2 separate regions of the Homo sapiens genome follow, and region 2 is linked to region 1. Evidence: promoter capture Hi-C in human tissues and cell types (Jung and others, 2019). All regions are on one chromosome and are shown on one strand. Each heading gives the region's core, a stretch centred on a gene start or on the middle of the fragment in contact. The rest is flanking DNA. Distances are from core to core; before and after follow the strand shown.

Evidence for each region. Contacts are between HindIII fragments. The study calls those that stand out against the background at their distance.
Region 2: a contact is called between a fragment that was not itself captured here and the fragment with the promoter of HAND2 in region 1, in 2 of the 25 tissues and cell types used here (bladder and spleen).

What each region holds. Positions count from the first base shown.
Region 1 is chr4:173,528,708-173,531,531 of GRCh38, reverse strand. It overlaps HAND2 (heart and neural crest derivatives expressed 2), which reads left to right and starts at 1,303. Exons shown (of 2, transcript NM_021973.3): 1 at 1,303-2,797. The coding sequence starts at 2,243. It overlaps HAND2-AS1 (HAND2 antisense RNA 1), which reads right to left and starts at 1,161. Exons shown (of 5, transcript NR_136196.1): 1 at 993-1,161; 2 at 454-565. The HindIII fragment of the contact is 12,639 bases long and covers 1-2,824 here.
Region 2 is chr4:173,618,090-173,620,983 of GRCh38, reverse strand. No RefSeq gene overlaps it. Among named protein-coding and RNA genes, the nearest start is that of HAND2-AS1, 89 kb to the right of the region's middle. The HindIII fragment of the contact is 3,637 bases long and covers 1-2,894 here.

The DNA of each region.
Region 1 (2,824 bases), core at 54-2,553:
CTGTTGACACCGTTTTCCACACCGAACTCCTTCGGGTGGAATCTGCATATACACATCAGCCTCCCCTCTCGGCTTGGGGCCAAGCCTGGGGTGATTTCAGCTCCTGCCATTTACCACCCGCCCTCGCCGCACGTGAGCCTTCTCAAGAAGCTCATGCCACACGGGCGCTGCGGCCCGGGTGCCCCGCGGCCCGGTGACTTACAAGTGGAGATCCATTTTCCGTTATAATGCGTTCAAGATCACCAAGGCCAGCAGTCTCAACATCCACGAGCCGTCCTCCCGGCCTGCCTCTTAAACTGGCGTTTAATGGTTCCCCTCCGATAACTAAACCTGCTTTCCACAGATGCCCGCTTTTATGAGGGAGGCAGGAATGCAGAGATATATTTATATGTTTGTTCATAAAAACTGGAAAATAAGCTCTGAACACGCCGTAAAAAATATTCAGTTACTTACCAAACAGGCTAGTTAAACCAGGGGAACACCGATACCAGCCACACTACAGATTCGGGGAATCGAGGTGCCCGCACTTCAAAATCGCCCAAGGTCTTCGTAGGGACTGGTGTCCCTGAAGGATGTGGAAATAACAGCATTTACAATCGGCTTGACATGTTCGCCCGGAGGACTCAGCCGTCATCTCCAAAGTTTGCCGCAATAACGTGAGCCACCCCAAACAGCTCTAACCGGGGTAACTTGGTGGGTAACTCAATAGCCACTGAGACCGGCGTTTCGAGCCTGTAAACGGGTCAAAGAAACACCCTTCTCCAGCCGCTCCTCGTCCCTGCTGGGGCAAAGAGCGCCAGCTCCCAGCCGCGCCTTTGTGGGGGCCCCCACCGCCCGTCACGAGGCTCCCGGCGCCCCTGCATAAAATTGTAAGAGGCTGCCTGCGTATATTTTCTTACCTCGATTACCTACAAAGCACTTCGAAAAGCAATACCTGCGTTTTCTTTCTTTCTTTCTTTTCAACCAGAAAAGAGAGCAGAGTGATACTGTACCTGGTTAGAGATTCTTCAATATTTGAGACTTGGGGGGAAAATATTTTAATAGTGAAGCATCTGTTAAACACTTGCATTATCCTCTGACTGATAAAAAAAGTTTTTTTAACCCTGCCCCCCCCCCCCGCCAAGTTTTAATTATCTTATGGTTATGAGGAGGTAGCCAATCCTGGAAGAGGACCTCGGCAATTAGCAACGTGAACATCAAAAAGTTTTATTGCCGAGAGCTCGAGGCGCCGCCCCTGCCGCCCCGGGATTGGCGTGAGGAGCCTCTGACGACATATATTAACCCGAGCGGCCCTAAAGATGTAGCTGTACATGGAGATCTTGCTGGGAAAATCCGCTTGCTCCCCTCACGTCGTCCAGCCCAGGAGAACCACCGCCGTCACCCCGGAGCTTCCTCGGCCACCGCGCAGAGCCCTCCGAGAGCCCGAGCCGCGGTCTTCGAGCTCCAAGGCTCATTCAGGGCCCCAGATCCTTGCCCCGAAAGGAGAGGATCTGAGAAAATGGATGCACTGAGACCTCTCTGAAAACCCTCCGAGAGAGCGCGAGAGGAGCGAGGACACGTTACTCGCAGCTAAAATCACATTTAAGGACCAAAACAACAACAACCAAAAATTTCATTAAAACAATAAGCGCCCAAGAACCCAGATCGGGCTGGTGGGGGGAGGGGAAGAGGCGGGAAGGGGAGGGTCGCACGGAGGTAGCTTTGCAGTGAGCAGTCGACCCCGCCGCCCCCCGGCACAGCTGGACCGGCTCCTCCAGCCGCGGCTCAGACTCGCCCCTGGATTCCGGGTTAGCTTCGGTGCCAGGACCGCGGCCCGGGCTTGGATTCCCGAGACTCCGCGTACCAGCCTCGCGGGAGCCCCGGCACCTTTGTATGAGCACGAGAGGATTCTGCCTCCGCGCAGCAGCCCGGGAAGCAGGAGCCGAAGCGCGGGCCGTGGAGCAAGGCGGGAACCGGAGGCGGCGGCGGCGGCGGCCAGGGGCGCACGGTGCCAGGACCAGCTCGCCGCGCCCCATGGGGAGCCGGCGGCCGCAGCGCTGCTGAGGCGGGCCCGGCTGGCCAGGCGGGGGGACGGGGCCCGGGCTGCAGCAGCCCCCTCTGCGGCTGCCGGGCGGGCCCGGGCGCCCGGGGGCTGGGGGGTGGGGGGTGGGGGAGGACGCCGAGCGCTGAGGCAGGGGCCCGGGCCGAGGGCGCGGCGGGGCTGCGCGCACGCTGGGGCGCGTGGAGGGGCGCGGAGGGCGAAATGAGTCTGGTAGGTGGTTTTCCCCACCACCCGGTGGTGCACCACGAGGGCTACCCGTTTGCCGCCGCCGCCGCCGCAGCTGCCGCCGCCGCCGCCAGCCGCTGCAGCCATGAGGAGAACCCCTACTTCCATGGCTGGCTCATCGGCCACCCCGAGATGTCGCCCCCCGACTACAGCATGGCCCTGTCCTACAGCCCCGAGTATGCCAGCGGCGCCGCCGGCCTGGACCACTCCCATTACGGGGGGGTGCCGCCGGGCGCCGGGCCCCCGGGCCTGGGGGGGCCGCGCCCGGTGAAGCGCCGAGGCACCGCCAACCGCAAGGAGCGGCGCAGGACTCAGAGCATCAACAGCGCCTTCGCCGAACTGCGCGAGTGCATCCCCAACGTACCCGCCGACACCAAACTCTCCAAAATCAAGACCCTGCGCCTGGCCACCAGCTACATCGCCTACCTCATGGACCTGCTGGCCAAGGACGACCAGAATGGCGAGGCGGAGGCCTTCAAGGCAGAGATCAAGAAGACCGACGTGAAAGAGGAGAAGAGGAAGAAGGAGCTGGTCAGTACCAGGGGGCGGCAGGCGGTG
Region 2 (2,894 bases), core at 168-2,667, 89 kb before region 1:
AGAAAGGTCAGGTTACCCACAAAGGGAAGCCCATCAGACTAACAGCGGATCTCTCTGCAGAAACCCTACAAGCCAAAGAGAGTGAAGGCCAATATTCAACATTCTTAAAGAAAAGAATTTTCAACCCAGAATTTCCTATCCAGCCAAACTAAGCTTCATAAGCAAAGGAGAAATAAAATCCTTAAGAGACAAACAAATGCTGAGAGATTTTTGTGGCCACCCAGCCTGCATTACAAGAGCTCCTGAAGTAAGCACTAAATATGGAAAGGAAAAACCGGTACCAGCCACTGCAGACATACCAAATTGTAAAGACCGTCAACACTATGAAGAAACTGCATCAACTAATGGGCAAAATAACCAGCTAACATCATAATGACAGGATCAAATTTAAACATAACAGTATTAACTTTAAATGTAAAAGGGATAAAGACTCCAATTAAAAGACACAGACTGGAAATTGGATAAAGATTTAAGACCCATCGGTGTGCTGTATTCAGGAGATGCATCCCACGTGCAAAGACACATAGACTCAAAATAAGGGGATGGAGGAAGATCTACCAAGCAAATGGAAAGCAAAAAAAAAGCAGGGGTTGCAATCCTAGTCTCTGATAAAACAGACTTTAAACCAACAAGATCAAAAAAGACAAAGAAGGGCATTACATAATGGTAAAAAGATCAATGCAACAAGAAAAGCTAATGATCCTAAATATATATGAACCCAATATAGGAACACACAGATTCATAAAGCAAGTTCTTAGAGACCTACGAAGAGACTTAGACTCTCACACAATAATAGTGGGAGACTTTAACACCCCACTGTCAATATTAGATCAACGAGACAGAAAATTAACAAGGATATTCAGGACTTGAACACAGCTCTGCAACAAGAAGACCTAACAGACATCTACAGAATGCTCCACCCCAAATCAACAGAGCATACATTCTTCTCAGCACCATGTAGCACTTATTCTAAAATTGGCCACATAATTGGAAGTAAAACAATTCTCAGCAAGTGCAAAAGAATGGAAATTATAACAAACAGTTTCTTAGACCACAGTGAAATCAAACTAGAACTCAGGATTAAGAAACTCACTCAAAACTGCACAACTACATGGAAACTGAACAACCTTCTCTTGAATGACTACTGGGTAAATAATGAAATGAAGGCAGAAATAAAGATGTTCTTTGAGACCAATGAGAACAAAGACACAACATACCAGGATCTCTGGGACACAGCTAAAGCAGTGATTAGAGGGAAATTCATAGCACTAAATGCCCACAGGAGAAACCAGGAAAGATCTAAAATCGACACCCTAACATCACAACTAAAAGAAGTGATGTCCTTCTCTAGAAAGAGAGAAGAACAAACAAATTCAAAAGAAAGAGAAGAAAGAGCAAACAAATTCAAAAGCTAGCAGAAGACAAGAAGTAACTAAGATCAGAGCAGAACCGAAGGAGACGGAGACACAAAAAACCCTTCAAAAAGTCAATGAATCCAGGTGCTGGCTTTTTGAAAGGATAAATAAAATAGATAGACCACTAGCCAGACTAATAAAGAAGAAAAGAGAGAAGAATCAAATAGACAGACAAAAAAATTACCAAGGGGATCTTCATTCCAAGATGGCAGAATAGGAACAGCTCCAGTCTGCAGCTCCCAGTGTGATTGATGCAGAAGATGGGTGATTTCTGCATTTCCAACTGAGGTACCTGGTTCATCTCATTGGGATTCATTGGACAGTGGGTGCAGCCCACGGAGGGTGAGCCAAAGCAGGGCAGGGTGTTGCCTCACCCACGAAGTGCAAGGGGTCAAGGGATTTCACTTTCCTAGCCAAGTGAAGCCATGACAGACTGTACCTGGAAAAACGGGACACTCTCACCCAAATACTGCACTTTTCCCAAGGTCTTAGCAACCGTCAGGCAAGGAGATTCTCTCCCATGCCTGGCTCGGCAGGTCCCACACCCACAGAGCCTTGCTCACTGCTAGCACAGCAGTTTGAAATTGAACTGTGAAGCAGCAGCCTGGCTGCAGGAGGGGTGTCCGCCATTGCTGAGGCTTGAGTAGGTAAACAAAGCTGCCAGGAAGCTCAAACTGGGCGGAGCCCACCACAGCTCAGCAAGGCTTACTGTCTCTATAGACTCCACCTCTGTGGGCAGGGCATAGCCAACAAAAGGCAGCAGACAACTTGTGCGGGCCTAAACGTCCATGTCTGACATCTCAGAAGAGAGAAGTGGTTCTCCCAGCATGGTGTTTGAGCTCTGGAACAGACAGACTGCCTCCTCAAGTGGGTCCCTGACTCCTGTGTAGCCTAACTGGGAGACACCTCCCAGTAGGGGCTGACCAATGCCTAATATAGGAGGGTGCCTCTCTGGGACAAAGCTTCAGAAGGATTAGGCAGCAATATTTGCCGTTCTGCAATATTAGCTGTTCTGCAGCCTCTGCTGGTGATACCCAGGCAAACAGTGTCTGGAGTGAACCTCCAGCAAACTCCAATGGACCTGCAGCTGAGGGACCTGACGGTTAGAAGGAAAACTAACAAACAGAAAGGAATAGCATCAACATCAACAAAAAGGACATCTACACCAAAACCCCATCTGTAGGTCACCAACATCAAAGATCAAAGTTGGATAAAACCACAAAGATGGTGCGAAACCAGAGAAGAAAAGCTGAAAATTCTAAAAACCAGAGTGCCTCTTCTCCTTCAAAGGAAAACAGCTCCTTGCCAGCAAAGGAACAAAGCTGGTTGGAGAATGACTTTGACAAGTTCACAGAAGTAGGCTTCAGAAGGTCAGTAATAACAAACTTCTCCGGGCTAAAGGATCATGTTTGAACCCATCACGAGGAAGATAAAAACCTTGAAAAAAGGTTAGCCAAATGGCAAACTAGAATAAACAGT